Linked DNA regions of Homo sapiens: all the other regions are linked to region 4. Evidence: promoter capture Hi-C in 16 types of primary human blood cells and fetal thymus (Javierre and others, 2016). All regions are on one chromosome and are shown on one strand. Each heading gives the region's core, a stretch centred on a gene start or on the middle of the fragment in contact. The rest is flanking DNA. Distances are from core to core; before and after follow the strand shown. Region 1 has its middle 5.9 kb from the start of ALDH1B1. Region 2 has its middle 130 kb from the start of ALDH1B1. Region 3 overlaps LOC107987065 (a long non-coding RNA gene). Region 4 holds the start of TRMT10B (tRNA methyltransferase 10B).

Region 1 (2,849 bases), core at 68-2,567, 630 kb after region 4:
CAGAGGTCCCAGCTGGCAAAGTGACTGAGAAGCATCCTGTGTCACTTCTGTGCCTCCTCAGGATACATCCAAACTCCTTAGCAAGGCACTTCAGGCCTTTCATGATCTTGGCATGATCTATGGCTCCAGACTTGGCTCTCAATGGCCCCCACTTATCCCATCACAGCCCAGGCACCAGCCAGGAGGAGGTTCTTACTGCACCCAAAGCCACAGGGCTCCCTCTCATTTCTGACCTTTGGCACATGCAGCTCTGTCTTCCAGAAATGCTGTTTCTCCCCTTGATTCAGCTTTCAAGAATCAGGTCAAGCATCAGCTCCTCCAAGAAGCCTCCCCTGACCTTCCCAGGCTTTGTGTAGTTGTTTTGTCCCATTTCCTGTTTCTCTGCTCTCTTGGCACCACTCTCTGGGTTCTCTTTCTCACACTGTGTGAGGGAAACATGCCAGTCTCCATGTCTGTCTGCCTCCCCAGTCTGTGAGTTGCCAGAGGACAGGTATGATGTCTTATTTGTCTCCACACGGCAGGGCCTGGCATAGGTGGGTCAGCAGTAACAGGAGCTGAGTGAAAGAAGGAATGATGAGTGGCAGATGCTTGCTGATGTGGACACTGCTGGGCCTGACAAGGGACTGTGCTGGGGAAACTGTCTTTGAACCAGAAAGAACTAGCTAGAGACAGAGAGGCAAAGTGGAAAGCAAGGGTAATCAGCGCTCACTGCAGCTCCCATACTCTGGTCACCTAGGCATCAGCCCTGTGGATCCAAAAAGCCTTTGCGCCCTCCTTGGCAGATCTGCCCTGCTGTCATGGATGGTAGGGCAGCATTTCAGGCTCGCTCCATCAGCAAGTGTATGAAGATACACTGGGTCCCTGCCAATACTTTGTACTTCAACCATTGCCTTATAGTGGCCCATAACCAGCCATAACAGGATGGGAAAGTCAATTGACTGGGTTTAACAAATAGCATGCATTTAGGCTCCAACATTTGTGGCCCAAGGACTCTGCTGCCAATGAACAAATGAACACTATGTAACAGCTTTACTACAACTTTCTGGGGCTTCAGTCTCCTAGAGGCCCTTGTGTCCTTCTCCTCCTATACCCCTCTTTTTACAGTGGCGATGACTGAGGCCCAGAGGGAGGTAGGTGGTGGCTCAAGGTCACACAGAAAGGCTGGAACCAGCACCCAGGCTCTGATAGCCTGCCAGTGCCCTTTGCACCAACTCTACTAGGTTTGGTGAGGGCTATTCAATAATTAACCGTGGATTCTGAGAAAGACATGGACCCCTCGGGCCCAATCATGAGGTCATAAAAGAACAGATTCATTACACAGTGTTTGAGCCCAGAGGACACTTGCTATTGACTTGGTAACATAATCTTTTTTTTTTTTTTAACTTTTTATTACCAGAAATTTTAAATATACACAAAAATAGACATTATAATGAACCCCTTTGTGCCAGCAGCTGCCAGCGTAAGTAATTATGAACACCTGCTGTTCTTGGTAACATAACTTGGAATCTTATTTCCTCCTTGGAAACTGGAGGAGACACACACTATAAAACACTATAACCAGAATGATCATTTCAAATTGCAAACTGGATTGTGTCAACCGCCCTTCCTTCTCCCTCAAGACCCTTTAATAGAATCCTCTGGTCCTGGGATGAAGATGGAGCAGAGCTCCTACCCCAGACCTGGACAGCTGTCTCTAGACTTCTTTTAAGTGAGAGAAAAGTACACTTCTCTTGTTTAAGCCACTTTTATTTTGGGTTTTCTCTGATGTCAGTAGTTCTCAAAACTGGCTACACAATGGAATCAATGGAAGAGCTTAAACACAAAACAAAACAACAACAAAACCAGATAACCCAGAACAACACCCAGGGACTCCTAGCAATGTGGAGTGTTGCTCAGGTGTTTCCAAAGACTCTCCCAGGTGGTGCTGATCCACAGGCATAGTTGAGAACCACTGTTTCATCATATGCATCCAATCTAACTCTAACTGGTACAGGCTCGGCTGAAAGGTCATCTTCTCCCAAGAAGTCTGGGGAGGAACTCAGGGCTGCCTCTTCTGTTTCCACAGAGCTTGGTGCTAATCTTTATTAAGTGTATCAGGCTGGGCATAGTGACTGATGCCTGTAATCCCAACACTTTGGGAGGCTGAGTCGGGAGGATTCATTGAGCCCAGGAGTTTGAGACCAGCCTGGGTAATATGGGTGAGACCCTATCTCTAAGAAAAATTTTAAAATTAGCCGAGTGTGGTGGAGGTCAGAAACTCAAAGTGTCTCCTTGGACTAAAATCAAGGTGTTGGCAGGGACGAGTTTCTTCTAGAGACACTGGGGGAGAAGCCTGTCCCTTGCCTTTTCCAACTGCTTGCATTTGTTGTCTTGTGACAGCATCACCTGACCTCTGCTTCCATCCCCACATCTCTTTCTCTGACTCCTGTTTCCCTTCGATAAGGACCCTTGTGATTACATTAGGCCCTGGCTATACAATCTAGAATAATCTCCCACCTCCAGATCATTAACTACAATATCCTCTTTTGCCATGTAAGGTAATGTCTTCATAGGTACCAGGTGTTAGGACATTGACGTCTTTAGGGGCCATTATTCTGCCTACCACAATCAGTGTACATAAGGTGAAGCAATAGGGAGTGGTGAGGCCTGTGGCAAACTGGAAAATGAAAGCCCTGCCTAAAGGGGGCAGCTACTACGTGCATCTCTAGTTGAGCCACTGTTCCATATCCACGTGCAGGCCTGATAGTACTAAGTCTTCCAATGTTTCAAGAACAAATAGAAAAGTACATTTTAATGTCAAATATCTCAATGTTTAAGCATTAGAAAGCATAAAACGGGGAAAAAAAACC
Region 2 (2,784 bases), core at 220-2,719, 510 kb after region 4:
TAGTATGAAACCCAAAATATAAATCTGTCAAAAACAATAATAGCTACAACAACCTGTTAAGAGACAGGTAATATAAAAATATGTAAATTGAAACAACTAACAGTCAAAATGTGGAGGCGATGGAGTTACAATGTAAACTTTTATTTTCATTTTTTCTTTGTTTCTATTCTATGTGATCTAAAATAAGATATCTTCTCTTTAAAATAATGTTACATCTATAAGTTTTTTTTTTGTAAACCGCATGGTAATCACAATGCAAACCCTATAGTGAGTTCACTAAAAATAAAAAATGACAAATTAGGCTGAGCGTGGTGGCTCACACTTGTGATCCCAGCACTTTGGGAGGCCGAGGTGGGTGGATCACCTGAGCTCAGGAGTTCAAGACCAGCCTGGCCAACATGGCAAAACCCTGTCTGTACTAAAAATACAAAAATTAGCCAGATGTGGTGGCAGGTGCCTGTAATCCCAGGTACTTGGGAGGCTGAGGCAGGAGAATCACTTGGACCTGGGAGGCAGGGGTTGCAATGAGTTGAGATTGCACCACTGTACTCCAGCCTAGGAGACAGAGCAAGACTCTGTCTCCAAAAAAACCAACAAAAACAAATTAAAACATACTGCCAGAGAAGATCACTGAACCACAAAGTAAGGCAGTAAGAAATGAAGAAAGGAAGAGAAGAGTTACAAAACAATCAGAAAACAAGCAACAGAATGACAGTAGTGAGTCCTTAGTTGTCAATAATAGTACTAAATATAAAGGAACTCAATTCTCCAATTAAAAGGAAGAGAGTGGCTGAATGGATAGAAATGAGATCCAACTATATGCTGCCTACAAGAAACCCACCTGTAAAGATAGACTGAAAATGAAGGGGTAAAAAAAGAGTCCGTACAACTGGAACCAAAAAAAAAAAAAAAAAAGCAGAAGTAGCTATAGCTATAGTTAGATAAATAGACTACAAGTCAGTCAAAGATTGTAAAAAGAGACAAAGAAAGTCACTATATAATGATAAAGGGGTCAGTTTCTCAAGCAGATGTAACAATTTTAAATATGTAGGCACTCAACACCAGAGATCCCAAATATGAAAAGCAATCTAAAGCAAGAGATAGATTGCAATACAATAATAGTAGGGGACTTTAACACCCCACTCTCAGTGATGGAAAGATCATTCAGATTCTCTACAATAAATTTTTTAAATTAGCTGGGTACGGTGGTGCATGCCTGTAGTTCTAGGTACTTAGGAGGTTGAGATGGGAGGATCACTTGAGCCCAGGAGTTCAAGGCTTCAGTGAGGTAAGATTACACTACTGCACTCCAGCCTGGGTGACAGAGTGAGACTGTCTCTTAAAAAACAAAAATAAACAAAGCCGAAGAATTAATGCCAATTCTACTCAAACTCTTCAAAAAAATAGAGGAGGAATACTTCCAAACTCATTCTATCTATGAGGCCAGCATTACCCTGATATCAAAACCAGACAAGGATACAGCAAGAAAAGAAAACTGTAGGCCAATATTTCTGATGAACCAAGATGCAAAAATTCCCAATAAAATACTAGCAAACCAAATTCTACAACACACTAAAGAGATCATTAACCATGATCAAGTGGGATTTATCCCCGGTATGCAAGGATGGTTCAACATACACAAATCAATAAACATAATACATGACATTCACAGAACCAAGAACTAAGAATGAAAAACATATGACTATTTCAATAGATGCCAGAAAGGCATTTGATAAAATTCAACATCCATTTATGATAAAGACCTTCATCAAACTGGGAATGGAAGGAATATACCTCAAAATAATAAAGGTCATATATAACAAATCCATAGCCAACATTGTTCTGAACAGGGAAAAATTGAAGGCCTTTCCTCTGAGATCTGGAACAAGACAAAGATGCCTATTTTTTACCACTTTTATTCAACGTAATACTGGAAGTCCTGGCCAGAGCAAGTAGGCAAGAGAAAGAAATAAAGGGCATCCCAATTGGAAAGGAAGAAGTCAGATTAGCCTTGCTCTCAGACAACAGGATCTTATATTTAGAAAAACCTAAGGACTCCACCAAAAAAACTGTTAGAACTGATAAATGAATTCAGTAATGTTGCAGGATACAAAATCAGCATACAAAATTCAGTAGCATTTATATATGCCAACAGTGAATAATCTGAGAAAAATTGAGAAATCTGTTTACAATAGCTATAAAGAATATAAAATACGCAGAAATCAATTTAGCCAAAGAACTGAAACATCTATACAAGGAAAACTATAAAACACTGATGAAAGAAATTGAAGAGGACACCAAAAAATGGCAAAATATTCCATGCTCATGGATTGGAAGAATCTGTATTGAAATGACAATACTACCCAAAGCAATTTACAGATTCAATGCAATGCTTATCAAAATACTAATGACATTCTTCAAGAAATAGGAAAAAAAATCCTAAAATCTATATGGAAATTCAAAAGACCCTGAATAGCCTAAACAATTCTGAGCAAAAAGAACAAAGCTGGAGGCCTCACACTACCTGACTTCAAAACTTACTGCAGGCTGGGCAGGGTGGCTCACGCCTTTAATCCCTGCACTTTGGGAAGCCAAGGTGGGCAGATCACCTGAGGTCAGGAGTTCAAGACCAGTCTGGCCAACATGGCAAAACCCTGTCTCTACTAAAAATACGAAAATTAGCCGGGCATGGTGGTGCGTGCCTGTAATCCCAGTTACTCAGGAGACTGAGGCAGAAGAATTGCTTGAACCCTGGAGGCGGAGGTTGCAGTGAGCCGAGATCAT
Region 3 (3,204 bases), core at 38-2,537, 580 kb after region 4:
GAAAAGTATAGCCAGGGTATAAAATAAGAACTACTTTCCAACAATGTACTTCACGAAGCCCTTGTCCCCTGAGGTGTTCTGGAGTAAAAACGGATTTATGGTCAACAATTTGGGGCGGGGTGGGGGGAGGATACTGCCTACTCCCCCATTAGAGATGCATAAAGCACATTAGCATATTAAAGGCTCTGAAAAGCCTTTAAGTTAAACCTAATTAATTTTCTTGAATACAGCTATTCCCCCAACTTTATTTTACTGTAGAAACCTTTCTCCCCATACAACACCTACTAACATCCTATAGGGAAAGATGCTTTGGGAAAGGTGGGATTAGATAAATAATCACAAAAGTATAGTAGCTGTGACCTTGGAAACTGCTTGGGTGAGCAGGTGTTTTAGCAGCATGGCTCCTGTTTAAACAATTACCCACCAGCCATGAGGATACATTTGGTGCTGGTTTTACTTGGATCAGGACATCCTAGCTGTGGCCAAGGTGGAGCCTTGACCTCCATTGTTCTAGACTCCATGTTTTAATGTATACAAAGGCAATCTATTTCCTTTGTCTCTGTTGTAGGAAGGTTAGGGACAGCTCCAAGTCTGTTTTTGGGTGGGATCGGTAATTGTTTAAACCCCGAAGAAGAGAAAGGATTCCTGTTTGCTGTTCCTGCAGGCTCAAACCTGCCTTTCGCATACAGACCAAAGACAGGATGAGACTCAAAGCAAGAGGCAGCCACATCAACATGGGAAGAGATGCTCTTTGTAGTCTTGGCCAGATGGAAGCCAGAGTCCCCCATGAGTTAGAACCCCCTCCAGTCACCTGAGAAATGTGAGCCTTGAATCTTATGGCCAAGCAGGCTGTCATTGCGTACTACAGATCCATGCAAGCAGATTTCCGTGGGTCTGCTGAAGTCTGGGGAACCTGTCCTGTAGACCGGGAGGAGGTTTCCTGTTATGTTTTTCCTGGCCTGGGAGCATGACTTGGGATTGCTGGCTGGTGTATCCCCTGCAAACTGACAGACCCAGGGCTGCCAAAGGGAGGGACTGAGGACAGAGTGAGGGGGAGAAATCCCCAAGGCCCGTCTGTGGGGAGAGTCCCGTTCCCTTCTGTCACAGAGACAGGCCAGCAGGCGCCTCCTGCTGCTCCAGCAAATCGAAAACCTCTCTCTCCTGCTATCCCCCAGATGCACAGACCCTTCGAGATCCATCCCAGACACAGCATGGACTGGCCTAAACCTGGTACACCAGCATTTCACTCCAGAGCTGTCCTTTCTTGCCTGTGTGGCCTCGGGAAAGTGCTTGACTTCCCCGGACCACAGAACATAGGTAATGAGGAGGATTAAATGAATGAGAGCTCCGCGTGAATACATCAATGGTGCGGCACGCGCTGTGGGGGATTCACATAGACATTTTAAAATGCTGCCCCTGCCTTGCGTCCAGCTTTTTCTGATTCTTCTAAAGTAAACTTTCATATTCCCAGGCCTTTCTTAAATATGACTTGGTTTATCAAGAAAGTGAGACTTTCTCACCCTTTCCACTGTGGACGTAAGACCCCTGTATCTGAAACTGAACTGAACGTAGCCATCAGAGATACTTCGGAGGCAATTTTGGAATCAGTTTTGATTAGTTCAAGAAGTTATTCTTGGACATGATCTCTGTGAATTATGTTTTCAGGGAAGTTGGGATTTTTTGTTTTGTTTTGTGTTGTGGTTTTTCATGAATGTGCTTCCATCTTAATTCGGCAAAAGATTATCCTGGACCAAGGGCAATTCATTCTCCTTTTGCTGTGGGGATTTCCAGAACAAAGAGATATCGAGTCCCAAACTGGACTGACTTCATAGATGGCAGAAGGAGAGAGAGCCAGCAGGATAGCAAGAAAGGGGGTGGGGAGAGAGAAAGAGAAAAGAGCACGCGCGCCAGCCTCAGACAATGAGTGGGGAGAGTTGAGAAGAGAAAAAGGGAGAGATTGGTTTTCAGATCTGTCCTGAACCTCTAAATTTTATTCATAGAAGTCAGAGCCAGCCTCGGTTGTAAAAGCAGCAGTTAACGTAACTAAGGCCTTCTGTCTGAGGCTTCCTCAAGCTCCTTGGTGGATCAGTGGCTTATGTGCTGTAGGAAAGAGATCAAGCCCTGTTTGAATACAGAAATTGCTTTCTCACCCTTTCTTGGTAATAAAATCCAGAAACAGAAACTGGCATGGGAGTAGGTTTCAGCATTCCTGTTGCACGGGACACTGACAGTTCTCCATTCTCCGATGTGGATCCCTCCTCCCCGTCCCCAGCACGGTCATATTTCTCAAATGCAAATGGAACCAGGGGACCTCTGCATTAAACCCTTTGAGCTCTCTTACTGCCACAGAAAGTGAAATCCACCCCTTGAGGACTGTCCCCTCAGTGTCTCACTGCAGATCCTGAAGGTCCCAGGGGAAGAAGACCCCTCCAAGCCTAAGCGCAGCAGGTCCCTGGCCCTGCCACACCTCTAGGGGATCCCACATCTACTCACCAGCCCCAGTACAGGTCAGGACATACAGGCCCATCAGGAACCCCAGAGAGGCCCAGACACTTTGAGGTCATTTAATGTGTAATACACATTAGCATAGCAACGGCTCTGAGAAGTCCTGCAGTGAAGTAACTTTGTTTAACTAGGCGCTTTCCATGCTTAGCTAACCCTGGACCACTTTCCCCGTGGAATACCCAGTAGCTCGTCAAGTAGCACTCCACAGAATGCTGTAAAACGATGGACAGGAGGCATCCACAGACATGTCCAGTCCCTCGAGAGAAAGTGTCTAATTCAGCTTTGGGGCCACAGAACCTAGCATGGGCCCTAGAAAAGAGTTTGTGTGGAATAAATAAACAAGCAAATTAATGAAATCATGCCATTGTTAACCCAGGCGGAACCTGGGAATTATAACTGCATGCCAAACACTATTTTCCAGGGCAACTAAGTCTGTGGCCAATGCATAGCTTTGTTGAGACCAAATCTCTTTTCTCCTCCCCACCCCTCAGCATTTGTACCAGTTAAAAACTGGCAGACCTTGAACCAGATCTGTCTAACATATGTGTTTTGTTTGGCCAGATCAGGGTTTTTGTTATTTTTTAATGCCATTAGGTAAGGGCTGAGCTCTGCAGCACAGCCAGACTCTGCCTCTCCCTGTCCTACCCCAACCTCTTCCCACATTCGCATCACCTGCTTAGCTCCCGAAGGCTTTGAGTT
Region 4 (2,970 bases), core at 61-2,560:
CTCTGTGTCCAGCTCAGGGTTTGTGGATGCACCAATCGGCACTCTGTGTCTAGCTAATCTGGTGGGGACTTGGAGAATCTTTATGTATAGCTAAGGGATTGTGAATGCACCAATCGGCACTCTGTATCTAGCTCAAGGTTTGTAAATGCACCAATCAGCACTCTGTGTCTAGCTCAGGGTTTGTAAATATACCAATCAACACTCTGTGTCTAGCTAATCTAGTGGGGACTTGGAGAACTTTTGTGTCTAGCTCAGGGATTGTTAACGCACCAATCAGCACCCTGTCAAAACGGACCAATCAACTCTCTGTAAAACAGACCAATCGGCTCTCTGTAAAGTGGACCAATCAGCAGGATGTGGGTGGGGCCAGATAGGAGAATAAAAACAGGCTGCCCGAGCAAGCAGCGGCAACCCGTTGGGGTTGCCTTTCTGGACTGTGGGTGCTTTGTTCTTTGTAATAAATCTTGTTGCTTGCTAACCCTTTGGGTCCCTACTGTCTTTGTGAGCTATAACACTCGCCGTGAAGATCTGTATTTGCAGCTCTTTCTTGAGGCCCGTGTGACCACGAACCCACCGAGAGCGAAGGAACAACTCCAGGTGTGCCCTCTTAAGAGATTTAACACTCATTGCGAAGATCTGCAGCTTCACTCCTGAAGCTAGCGAGACCATGAACCCGCCAGAAGGAAGAAACTCCAGACACGCAGTCTTTAAGAATTGTAACACCGCGATGGTCCGCGGTTTCATTCTTGAAGTCAGTGAGACCAAGAATCCACCATTTCCGGACACAATATGATATCAGGTTGGAATTTGATATTTTAGTTCTACAAAGATTCTGTTGTGTCAGTCCCCGTTGGGCCTAAACTCCGCAAGGGATGGGATATAATATCAGTGCATGTCCAACCGCCCCGCTCCACTCCCGCTTCCTGTAATGGCCATAACTAGTTTTTAAGGTTTCCTTCGGCAGAGAGGGAGGTCCATTCAGTCGGGTGCGGGCCTTAGAATTTTTTTGCTTCACACACCCCAGTTTCGCAATGTCCAGCCCTTGACAACCAACAGAGCACCTGTAGGAGCCCTGTGAAGTTGGTAAAGGGTTGGGGTTGTAATAGCTGTCCAGCAGACGGGGAGACAGGGGTTCAGAGAAGGTGGGCAACCACCACAGCAGGACGCAGCTCCCTACCGCCAGGGCTGGGAGTAGAAGCCGCAGCCTCCGCTCCGGCTCGGCCCCACGAGCACCCTGCAGGTGAAAAACTACAATTTCCAGAATGCCATTCGGAGCGGAGTTACGAAGCGGAAGCGAGGCCGGGGGCGGGGGGGATCCGATGCGCGCCGCTGCCGCTGCGTGGGGGTGAGGGGATCAGGTACGCTGTCCGCTGGTTAAGGGGGCTGGCTGGGGGCTGCGGGGTCTGTCCTGGGACGTCCGCCTCCCTCGCGGGTGGGGCGGACGTTGAGAAAGCAGCGTTTAGCAGTCATGTGGCCTGTGGTACTCCACCTTCCTGATACTTTCCCTTCCTGCTTCCACTCGCACGCTCAGCCTGTGGGCCGGGAGAGACCCGCAGGCGGGGTGCTCTCAGGCTGAATTCGATGTGCCATCACTTAGCGGCAGTGTAGGTACCCATCAGGTGGGAGTTAGGCTAGCAAAGGTCTGAGGCCTCTGCCAACCTAGGGTGGGGGTGCGGAGTGGAGGATTTATGAACTCAGCAAGTATTTATTAAGCATCTATAAGCAAACAACACTTGCCTACATTGAAGGGATGGAGGAGGTTCCGACAACAAGTAAAATAGGTTATGTTGGATAGTAATATGAATGAGGAGAGGAAGGTAGTCTGTGAGTGTCTTAGGGAAGAGCATTGAGGGTAAAGAGAACGGCGAATGTAAAGGCCTTGAAGGGTATGTTTGAGGAACAGCAAATAGACCCCGGAGTGCAGAGGAAACGAGAAAGGTAGACCTTAGTGATCTGCATAGGTCATTGTATGGATTTGGGCTATTTACTGTCAGTGAAATGGAGAGTACTGCAGGGTTCTAAGCAGAAGAGTGGTGATCATCAAATACTTAGGATGCTCACAGGGCTCGGGTACTGAGGGTGTACAGGTGAATTCTTCCAATTCTTCCCTGGGTTTATAATCTAGTGGGGAAACAGGTAGACAGCTGTCATGCAAGGCAGGGTCAGATAATTGGAGCCCCATGAAAGCAGAACGAATGTCATCCCCAAGTCCCCAGGATGTACTATTATGTCAGGTGCTTAGTAGCTTTGTTGAACGAAAGTAATGAATATTCAGCATCGGACCCATAATTGGAGGCTCAGAAAAGATGTTTAATGAAGAAATGAAAAATAAATGAAATCTCACTTCTTGATACTGTTACAATGGCAATTAAGTTTCAACCTGAATGTGAGAAGGGGACAAACATTCAAACCAGAGCAGCACTCAAATTCATAAGATAGGAAATACAAAGGTGCTGCCAGGATTGGGGAAGGGAGAGTTATATAAAGGTCACAGGGTCGGGTGTGGTGGCTCACGCCTGTAATCCTAGCACTTTGGGAGGCCCAGACAGGTGGGTCGCGAGGTCAGGAGATCGAGACCATCCTGGCTAAAATGGTGAAACTCCGTCTCTACTAAAAATACAAAAAAATCTAGCCGGACATGGTGGCGGGTGCCTGTAGTCCCAGCTACTCAGGAAGCTGAGGCAGGAGAATGCGTGAACCTGGGAGGCAAAGCTTGCAGTGAGTCGAGATCGCGCCACTGCACTCCAGCCTGGGCGACAGAGTAAGACTCCGTCTTTTTTTTTTTTTTTTTTTTTAAAGTTAGTTTCACTTTAGGAAGACAAACAAGCTCTGGAGCTGGACAGTGGTGATGGTGGCACACAATGTGGATGCCCTTAGGTGTGTTTTTAACTGCACATTTACAAATGGTTAAAATGGTAGTTCCTATGTCCAAAAAAAAATGCTAAATTTGGGCATAGATAATGTCCCACA

What was found. The method cuts DNA at HindIII sites, captures the fragments that hold promoters and counts their contacts. A CHiCAGO score of 5 or more calls a contact.
Region 1: a contact is called between a fragment that was not itself captured here and the fragment with the promoter of TRMT10B in region 4, in 2 of 17 cell types (endothelial precursors and M0 macrophages). The highest score is 7.8, in endothelial precursors.
Region 2: a contact is called between a fragment that was not itself captured here and the fragment with the promoter of TRMT10B in region 4, in 2 of 17 cell types (M0 macrophages and M2 macrophages). The highest score is 6.3, in M0 macrophages.
Region 3: a fragment that was not itself captured here is called in contact with the fragment with the promoter of TRMT10B in region 4 in 1 of 17 cell types (M2 macrophages); the score reaches 5.8 in M2 macrophages.

The regions. Positions count from the first base shown.
Region 1 is chr9:38,385,338-38,388,186 of GRCh38, forward strand. No RefSeq gene overlaps it. Among named protein-coding and RNA genes, the nearest start is that of ALDH1B1, 5.9 kb to the right of the region's middle. The HindIII fragment of the contact is 5,209 bases long and covers 1-2,849 here.
Region 2 is chr9:38,264,983-38,267,766 of GRCh38, forward strand. No RefSeq gene overlaps it. Among named protein-coding and RNA genes, the nearest start is that of ALDH1B1, 130 kb to the right of the region's middle. The HindIII fragment of the contact is 4,197 bases long and covers 1-2,784 here.
Region 3 is chr9:38,335,460-38,338,663 of GRCh38, forward strand. All of the region lies in intron 1 of LOC107987065 (a long non-coding RNA gene), which reads left to right. Among named protein-coding and RNA genes, the nearest start is that of ALDH1B1, 56 kb to the right of the region's middle. The HindIII fragment of the contact is 4,341 bases long and covers 1-3,204 here.
Region 4 is chr9:37,752,495-37,755,464 of GRCh38, forward strand. It overlaps TRMT10B (tRNA methyltransferase 10B), which reads left to right and starts at 1,311. Exons shown (of 9, transcript NM_144964.4): 1 at 1,311-1,358. RefSeq lists a silencer at 1,221-1,455. The HindIII fragment of the contact is 5,639 bases long and covers 1-2,710 here.